Regions from separate parts of the Homo sapiens genome. Here region 1 is linked to region 2. Evidence: promoter capture Hi-C in human tissues and cell types (Jung and others, 2019). All regions are on one chromosome and are shown on one strand. The core of a region is centred on a gene start or on the middle of the fragment in contact, and the rest is flanking DNA. Distances in the headings are between cores, read along the strand shown.

The links. Contacts are between HindIII fragments. The study calls those that stand out against the background at their distance.
Region 1: a fragment that was not itself captured here is called in contact with the fragment with the promoter of SLC5A11 in region 2 in 3 of the 25 tissues and cell types used here (aorta, spleen and thymus).

What each region holds. Positions count from the first base shown.
Region 1 is chr16:25,188,244-25,192,978 of GRCh38, forward strand. No RefSeq gene overlaps it. Among named protein-coding and RNA genes, the nearest start is that of AQP8, 26 kb to the right of the region's middle. The HindIII fragment of the contact is 5,749 bases long and covers 1-4,735 here.
Region 2 is chr16:24,844,171-24,849,080 of GRCh38, forward strand. SLC5A11 (solute carrier family 5 member 11) reads left to right here and starts at 1,793. Exons shown (of 17, transcript NM_001352248.3): 1 at 1,793-1,842; 2 at 2,062-2,268. The HindIII fragment of the contact is 12,271 bases long and covers 1-3,117 here.

The DNA.
Region 1 (4,735 bases), core at 1,191-3,690, 340 kb after region 2:
ACCTACTGTATAAGCAAGACAGACATGACATATGCCCTTAAGGAGCTTTCATTCTTTTGGAGGACTGTCAAATATGCCTTACTGTAAGGTATGGCAACCTTTATGTGGGAAAGCCATGGATTCACCTAACAAAAGCAGCTTATTGGCTGGGTGCAGTGGCTCATGCCTGTAATCCCAGCACTTTAGGAGGCCAAAGCAGGCGGATCACTTGAGGTCAGGAGTTCGAGAGCAGCCTGGCCAACATGGTGAAACCCTGTCTCTATTAAAAAAAAAAAAAAGAAAATTAGGCCAGGCGTGGTGGCTTACGCCTGTAATCCCAGCACTCTGGGAGGCCGAGGCGGGTGGATCATGAGGTCAAGAGATCGAGACCATCCTGGCCAACATGGTGAAACTCCGTCTCTACTAAAATACAAAAATTAGCTGGGCATGGTGGCACGTGCCTGTAGTCCCAGCTACTCCAGAGGCTGAGGCAGGAGAGTTGCTTGAACCCGGGAGGTGGAGGTTGCAGTGAGCCGAGATCGCACCACTGCACTCCAGCCTGGCGACAGAGTGAGACTCTGCCTCAAAAACAACAACAACAACAAAACTAGCCTTAGCGCGGCATGGTGACGCACACCTGTCATCCCAGGTACTCAGGAGGCTGAGGCACGAGAATCACTTGAACCCAGGAAGCGGAGGTTGAGCTCTCAGTGAACTGAGATCGCACCACTGCACTCCAGCCTGGGCAACAGAGCAAGACTCCGTCTCAAAGAAAAAGAAAAAGAAAAAAAGAGAAGCAGCTTTTCCATTTAAGCTGGCCGAGGAAGCTTTCCTGAGACTGTCATACAAAGTCCCCTAGGCAGATGGATTCGCATTCGCAAGAGAGCATGCCTGTATACCCGTGTCTTCCGTCATTACTAACCAATTGCATATTTGTGCTTCTAATTGCTTGTGTTAATTTATTCCGTCCCTATAACAACTCCACGTCAGTTTGTTTTAATCCTCACTTTTTTTTGAGACCGGGCCTCACTCCTGTCACCCATGTTGGAGCGCAGTGGCATAATCGCAGCTCATTGCAACCACTTTGGGCTCAACGGATCCTCCCACCTCAACCTCCCAAGTCTAATTAGCTAGGACTACAGGCATATGCCACCATGCCTGACTGATTTTTTATATTTTGTATAGATGGGGTCTCACCGTGTTGCCCAGGTTTGTCTTGAACTCCTGGGCTCACGCCGTCCTCTTGCTTTGGCCTCCCAAAGTGTTCGGATTACAGGCGTGAGTCACTGTGCCCAGCCTTATTCTCATTTTAAACATGAGGAAATAAGGGTATGTGGAAATTGTGTAATTTGTCCAAGGTCATACAGCCAATCAATGATGGAACTGAATTTGAAACCAGGCAGGTTGGCTTTAGAGCCTGTGCTTTTGACTGCTATGTTATATGTGTCTCCTTTCTCCCTGCCCTTAATAGCACATAAAATCTTTTTCTTTTCCCCCAGCACCACCATTACATGAAGGTGTGGGGTCTCATTTCTTCCCATTTGTCAGGTTGGCTTATTTCTCCTTTTCTGGGCACCCCTTGATGCTGTTGATGAAGAATGACCCTCTCCTCAAAAGTCTTACAGTTCTTAGTGAGGCTTTTGAATACTTAGTTGCAGAAACGGCTTTTGAAATGCACTATCTAAATGGTTTCAGGAATACGCCATTAATTGATGAATGCCACCAAGAGCTTGGATTCATGCCTTCTGCTCTGTCTTCCTTGGCATGTTGACTTTTTTTCTTTTTTTGGAGACAGGGTCTCACTCTCTCGCCCAGGCTGGAGTGCAGTGGCGTGATCTTGGCTCACTGCAACCTCTGCCTCCCTAATATAATCGGTGAGTTATATTACCCACAGATGTGCACATTTTATTGTCTCGCACAGATGCTGGAAGTAGACCACAAATTTGACTTCCCCCCAAGTCCTCTCAAGGATTGAAACATGATTCAAGTGCCTCAACTTCCTGAGTAGCTGGGATTATAGGCATGCGTCAGCATGCCCAGCTAATTTTCATTGTTTTTTCTGTGTGTGTTTTGTTTTATTTTTCAGTAGAGATGGGATTTCACCCTGTTGGTCAGGCTGGTCTCGAACTGCTGGCTTCAAGTGATCCACCTGCCTCGGCCTCCCAAAGTGCTGGGATTACAGGGGTGAGCCACTGCGCCTGGACAGCATGTTGACTTTTCATCTTCAGCTTGTTGCCTCATGATCACAAAGTAGCTCCCAGAGTGCCAGGCATCATAACTGCATTCATGGCAGGAAAAAAGATGGGTCTTTTTTTTTTTTCAGTGGTTTCTGTCTTTTTTATCCAGAATAAAATTGTTCCCAAATATGCCTAATAGACTTCCCTCTGTATCTCATGCTAAGAACTGGGTAGGGTTGCCAAATGAAATACAGAATGCCCAGTTAAATAGAATTTCAGTAAAGAACACATAATTAAAAAAATATATAACTGGGACCCATGTAATATTTGGCACATGCATACACTAAAGAAATAATGTGTTGTTTACCTGAAATTTGCAGTATACTTACACTAAAAACATTATGTGTTGTTTACCTGAAATTCAAATTAACTGGGCGTTCTGTATTTTTTTTTTTTTTTTTTTGCTAAATCTGGCAACCCTAGAACTAAATCTATTTGGAAGAGACGGTGGGAAATAGAATATCTGGCTTTCGAGCTTTTATAATACAAGATGGGCAAAATACACAGGACTTTTAGATCATCGGCTACCCAGTGTGAAGTCATTTTGGTTGTGTTCACTGTAGCGTGCAGAGAATTGGTTTGTTTTGTGTTTTGTTTTGTTTTGAGACAGAGTCTCCCTCTGTTGCCCAGGCTGGAATGCAGTGGCGCAATCTCAGCTCACCAAAACCTCCTCCTCCCAGGTTCAAGCGATTCTCCTGCCTCAGTCTCCCGAGTAGCTGGAATTACAGGTGCCAACCACCATGCCTGACTAATTTTTGTATAATTAGTAGAGATGGGGTTTCACCATATTGATCAGGCTGGTCTCGAACTCCTGACCTCAAGTGATCTGCCCTCCTTGGCCTTCCAAAGTGCTGGGATTACAGGCGTGAGCCACCGTGCCCAGCTGAGAATAGGTTTCTATAACGTCAGAAAATTTATGAAGTTTGAGGCAGGGTCAAACGATATTTTTTCATCTTATTGTTATTTTTTGTTTTGTTTTCTTAAGAGATGGGGTCTCACTGTCTCACCCAGGCTGGAGTGCGGTGGCATAATCACAGCTTTCTGCATCCTCAAACTCCTGACTCAAGGGATTCCATCTTAGAGGCTTTTATGCCTTTCATTTTTGGGTGGGAGAAGTGGATATCTGATCATGAATAAAGCATCTGTTATGGGCAGGAGATATATTTATATTTTGGTTTATTTCTTTATATCCCTCCTTGTTCTACAAGGGGAATTGAGATACCTGATAAAACTACAGCAACAGGATGGGCATGGTGGCTCACTCCTGTAGTCCCAGCATTTTGGGAGGCTGAGGCAGGCGGATCACAAGGTCAAGAGATCGACACCATCCTGGCCAACATGGTGAAACCCCATCTCTACTAAAAATACAAAAAATTAGCCGGGGGTGGTGGCTACTGCCTGTAATCCAGCTACTCAGGAGACTGAAGCAGGAGAATCACTTGAACCCAGGAGATGGAGGTTGCAGTGAGCTGAGATTGTGCCACCACACTCCAGCCTGGCGACAGAGCGAGACTGTCTCAAAACAAAACAAAAAAACAAAAAAAACTATACAACAGAAAAACAAACAAACAAACAAATGCTCGGGGAAGTTTGAACATGAGGCTTTTTTTGTTTGTTCATTTTGTTTTGTTTTAAATGCCAGGAGTTATTAGCCCACGGATGTGCACATTTCATTGTCTCGCATAGATGCTGGAAGTGGGCCATAAATTTGACTTCCCCCAAGTCCTCCCTCTCAAGGATTGAAACATGATTCAGTTTCCATAAAATTACAGCCAGCCACATGCTCAAGAGAGGCACAGCTGTTCCTGCAGGAGACCCTGGAGAAGCTTCACCCAGAAACCCTCAGTGAGATCCCTGTGATTCGCATGTTCGTGGACCTGGGTTTGTAGCTGATGCCCCAGGGTCCTTGGATGCAACTGATGACTTAATGCCGAAGTGAAATTCCATGAAGGTGATTCTATGAGGCCAAAGCAATGCGGTCTGATTATTTAGCTCTGGGAAGCTGGATTTAATGACAGAGTAGAATTTAGAAAATCTGGAAGGACTGAACCGGGAATGGTGGCTCACGCCTGTAATCCCAGCACTTTGGGAAGCCAAGGTGGGTGGATCACTTGAAGTCAGGAGTTCGAGACCAGCCTGGCCAACATGTTGAAACCCTGTCTCTACTAAAAAATACAAAAATTAGCCAGGCGGCTGGGCACAGTGGCTCAAGCCTGTAATCCCATCACTTTGGGAGGCTTGAGGTAGGCAGATCATGAGGTCAGGAGTTCGAGACCAGCCTGACCAATATGGTGAAATCCCGTCTCTACTAAAAATACAAAAATTAGCCGGGTGTGGCGGTGCACGCTTGTAGCCCCAGCTACTCAGGAGGCTGAGGCAGGAGAATGGCTTGAACCTGGCAGGCAGAGGTTGCAGTGAGATGAGATCGCACCACTGCACTCCAGCCTGGGTGACAGAGTGAGACTCCGTCTCAAAAAAAAAAAAAAAGTACAAATAGCATACCAACATTTTCTTGTACT
Region 2 (4,910 bases), core at 543-3,042:
AAACTTTGCAGAACTTCTCTAGAACAATCAGAAGTTCTGACCCCATTGGGCCTGTCTTCCCCCACGTGGAGCTGGGTCGTGGCTGTCCTCTTCAGCTGGGACACATGCTCTCGGGTCAGCCTCAGCTCCACCTGCCCGGCTTCACTCACTACCACGCCTCTTCTGTAGACACCCTGCACATGGCTAAGGCTCCCCAGACATTCCCAAGAAGTCAGGACTGGACCCCAGGTTGGCGAAGCAGTGCACCCTCGGTGGCACCCCACTGCCTTTCCTGGTGCTGTGGCCTCTGCTGCAGATCACAGATTCATGGCCTTCTGTCTGTCCCTCTTCTCCAATCCCAGCTGTTCCTTCTGTAAATCTGTCCCCCAGGGCAGGTCCCTCCCCCAAAGGCCCCATTCATACTGGTGTTGGTCAGTCACCCAGTGTTTGCTCACCCAGGCCACCCTTTATCCAGTCAAGCCACCCTCCACTGCTCCTGCAGGACTCTAGAGCCAGGTGGCCTGGGCTGAAATCTTGCTGTGTCACTTACAACCCGGGTGATCCTGGGCCGATGACTCATCTCCTCTACCTCTGTTACCTCGTCAGTAAGATAGAGATAACAGGACCTAACTTCGAGGGTTGTTGGAAAGACCAAGTGAGTAAAGGCATGTTGTGCCCTTAGAGCCTGGCACGTGTTCATCACTGCTATTATTTCTGGCTACTCGGTGCCAGGACAGGGGCCTCAGCTGAGGGCCCCCCAGAGCCTGGCAGGCCCAGTGAAGGAGTGAGATGGGGAGGCCACGACTCCTCCCCAGTCAGCAGCTGTCCTGTGGCCATGGGGGCCTGGTGAGGCCAGATCTTCAGGTTGTTCTAGAAAAGTGAGTATTCTAGAATTATGTTTCAAGCCTCTTGGTTTGCAAATACTAGTAACTATTTTTAAAATGTTTTGGTATTTGGCCTGGCACAGTGTTTGACCCCTGTAATCCCAGCACTTTGGGAGGCCAAGGTGGGAGGATCACTTAAACCCAGGAGTTGGAGACCAGCCTGGGCAACATAGCAAGATTCTCTCTCTACCAAAAAAATGAAAAAATTAGCTGGGTGTGGTGGTGCACGCCTGTAGTCCCAGCTACTCGGGAGGCTGTGGTGGGAGGATCACTTGAGCCCAGGAGGATGAGCCTGCAGCAAGCTGTGATGCCACCACTGCACTCCAGCCTGGGTGACAGAGTGAGATCCTGTCTCAGAAATAAAAAGTAAATAAAGTTTTGGATGCTTTGAGCATCTGGCAGAAATCTTCGCTATGCCCCGCTGATGTCCTGGGCCCGATGTGGGCGCCTGGCCATGGCTCGGTCACTCCTGACGGTTTTTCAGGGCCTCAGACACCTCTTCTTCTTCTTCTTCTTCTTTTTTTGAGACTGATTTTCGCTCTTGTTGCCCAGGCTGGAGTGCAATGGTGTAATCTCGGCTCACCACAACCTCCGCCTCCCGGATTCAAGTGATTCTCCTGCCTCAGCCTCCCGAGTAGCTGGGACCACAGGCATGCACCACCATACCCGGCTAACTTTGTATTTTTAGTAGAGATGGGGTTTCTCCATGTTGGTCAGGCTGGTCTCGAACTCTCGACTTCAGGCAGACACCTGTTCTTTGCCATGCCTCTGTCTGAAGAGTATATGGAAAGGGGTTGCACAAGCAATGGTTGCTGTTCCTGTTGCTGCCACTGCGGTGAGGGCTGTGGCTGGACGTCCCTCCTGGCACTTTGCCTCTGTCCCCTCCATCCGCCGCCAGCATTTTTCCTCCCCTCCCCTTCCTCCAGCTCGTCCCAAGCCTGCCTGTCCCCAGCGTGGAGGCGGGACAGTGGAAGACTGGGTGAGTGAAGCAGGATGGTGCCTTGGGCTCCAGCGTCTCCCCAACCCCTCCATGCCATGGGTCCCCACGCAGGTGAGGACCCTGGTGGAGGACGGTGTGGGCAGAGCGTGGGACATGTCACCTTCCCCACCTGCTCAGAGTTCAAGGGTCCTGGGCTGGGCCCCGTTCTCTCTTCTGCCCTGGGGAGATCATTCACGCTTCCTTTAATCCCCGCTGCAGCTGAGGCTGGAGTTTGGAGTTTGACCCGCTTGGAGGCTCTCTCAGCAGCGGGCATATAGGAGGAAGGGTCACTGCTGTCTCCGGAAGCTCTTGGCTGCAAAGAGAGAGGATCCCGGGTATCTCCCTCCTTACAACCACCGCCACCTCCTAGTGCCTTAGAAGCCACTGACAGCCCCCAGGGCAGGTGAGCCCTGCATCTGGAATAAGGTAAGACACCCCCTGCCCCCAAACAGGTAGCCACTCTCCAAACTGGGAAGTTGGTCTGGGGACAGGTGCTGGCAGAAGGACTCCAGCTGTCACCTGTGGGGCAGGGGAAGCTCAGCCCTCTCTGCAGAGAAAGCTTGTCATACACCAGGACAATGGAGTGTGTTTGTGGGGTGGGCATGGTGGTATGAAGCCAGCAGCCGGCAGCCAGCAGCACCGTACGTGGGTCCCAGCTCTTCCACTTAACCAAGGTCAGGGACATTGAGCCAAACATTTTGCCTCACCGAGTCTCAGGTTCCTTATCTGTCAAATGGGAATATGAACCTCAGGCTGACCCACCCCACAGGTGTGTTACCCAGAGATAACGAAGGTAAATGTATCCACATAAGCATTAAAAAGCTATAGGAATGTATTTACTACAACTGCAGCTGCTGTTAACTACAAGGCAAATACAAGTCTTCACTGGTACGTGTCAGACACGTGCAGAGAACTTTACGCCTGGATCTCATCTAACTGACACAGAAACCCTGTAAGGTAGGTACAGCACCCCCTAATTCATGGACAGAGTCTAAGGGTCATTAAATAACTTGCTCAAGGTAATACAGATAGTGAGTGGCCAAGCCAAGACTCAATTCCTGTGGCCATGAGCTCAGCCACAATATCAGTGATTTTCTTTTTCTTTCCTTTCTTTCTTTTTCTCTTTCTTTCTTTTTCTTTCTTTTCCTTTCTTTTCTTTGTTCTTTCTTTCTTTCCTTCTTTCTTTTATTTCTTTCCTTATTCCTTTCTTTCCCTTTCTTTCTCCTTCCTTCTTTCCTTCCTTCCCTCCCTCCCACCTCTCTGTTTCTCTTTCTTTTCCCTTTTTTCTTTCTTTCTTTCTTTCTTCTCTCTCTTTTATTATTTATTTCTTCCTTTCTTTCCCTTTCTCCTTCCTTCTTTCCTTCTTTGCCTCCTCTCTCTCTCTGTGTGTGTTTTCTGTTCTCTCTCTCTCTCGTTTCTTTTCTGTCTTTTCTTTCACAGGGTCTCTCTGTGTTGCCCAGGCTGAAATGTAGTACTATCATAGCTCACCAGCATGCCCTGCTAACTTTTTTATTTTTATTTTTTGTACAAATGGGGTCTCCCTGTGTTGCCTTGGCTGGTCTCAATCTCCTGAACTCAAGCGATTCTCCCGCCTCAGCCTTGCAAAGTGCTGGGATTACAGGCATGAGCCACTGCACCCTACCAATCAGTGGTTTTCAAATGGTGTTCTGCTGAATTATTCTGGGCAATAGTTGACAGAAGTGTCCTAGCCCATTGGGCATCCTGCAGATAGGACTTGGAAAAATGCTGTCCCTTTTTTGGGCGGTCACAGCGTGCAAAGGATCTATAGCAAAGGCTCTAAAAATCCCACATTTATTTGTTGTACCAACATTTATTGCATGCCTGTTTTGGGGACACAATGAGAGTGACAGAGACATGGACCTTTCTTTATGGGGCTTGCTGTGCAGTGCAGACAAGGGGTAATCACACACATCAAGTGTTACACTTGATTAGACTGTGATGAGAAGTTGTGTTTGCCATGAAAGCAAAAAGCTTGGGGACCCAATTTATATTGAGGCCAAGAGGGGGCTCCTTTGGGGATATACAGCAGGCTGACATCTAAAGGATGAGTAGGAGCTTGTCCAGCAAAGAGTGCAGGGAAGAGCATCCCAGGCAGAGGGAACAGAATGGCAAAGACCCTGAGGCCAGAAATCGTGTTCCAGGAATAAAATGAATGCTAGTATGTGGTGGGGTTGGAAGCACAACAAAGCACCCCAGCAGCATGGAGATGTTTTGAGCAGGAAAATGATCTGATCTGACTCATACTTAAAGATTTCTCTGGCTTCCGTGTGAGGGGCGGATTAAAAGGAAGCAAGGCTGGGTGAGGTGGCTCATGCCTGCAACCTCAGTGCTTTGGGAGGCCAAGTTGGGAGGATTGCTTGAGGCCTGGAGTTTGAGACCCGTCTGGGCAACATAGCAAGACCCCGTCTCTACAAAAAAATTACAAAATAAGAAGTTAGCTGGAGGCCAGGCATGGTGGCTCACACCTGTAATCCCAGCACTGTGCAGGGATCATTTGAGCCCATGGGGTTGAGGCTGCAGGAGCTGTGTTTGTGTCACTGCACTTTAGCCCAGGCAACAGAGTGAAACCCTGTCTCAAAAAATAAAAAATTAGCTAGGCATGTTGGCATGTACCTGTGGTCCCACCTACTTGGGAGACGGAGGTGGGAGGATCCCTTGAGCACAGATGTTCGAGAGTTTGAGGCCACAGTGAGCTCTGATGGCACCATTGCACTGCGGCTTGGTCAAGGGAACAAGACCCTGTCTCTAAAAATTAAGTAAATTAAAACAAAAATAAAATAATAAAATAAAAAGGAAGGAAGAATGGATATCGGGGAGGTAAGACTGGAGGGTCTTTCTCTAACCTAGACAGAAGTGATGGTGGCTCAGACAAGGGTGATAGCACTAAAAATGAGGGAAAATGTGTGGATTTATTATGTTTTGGAAGTAAGAGAGAATGGAATTGGGAGTGAATAGATTCTGGGAGGTGAGAAAGAGATGCTATAAATTCTTCGATGAGACATTTACATACCAGGCACTCTTGGTGCTTAGATGTAGTGCCTGGCACA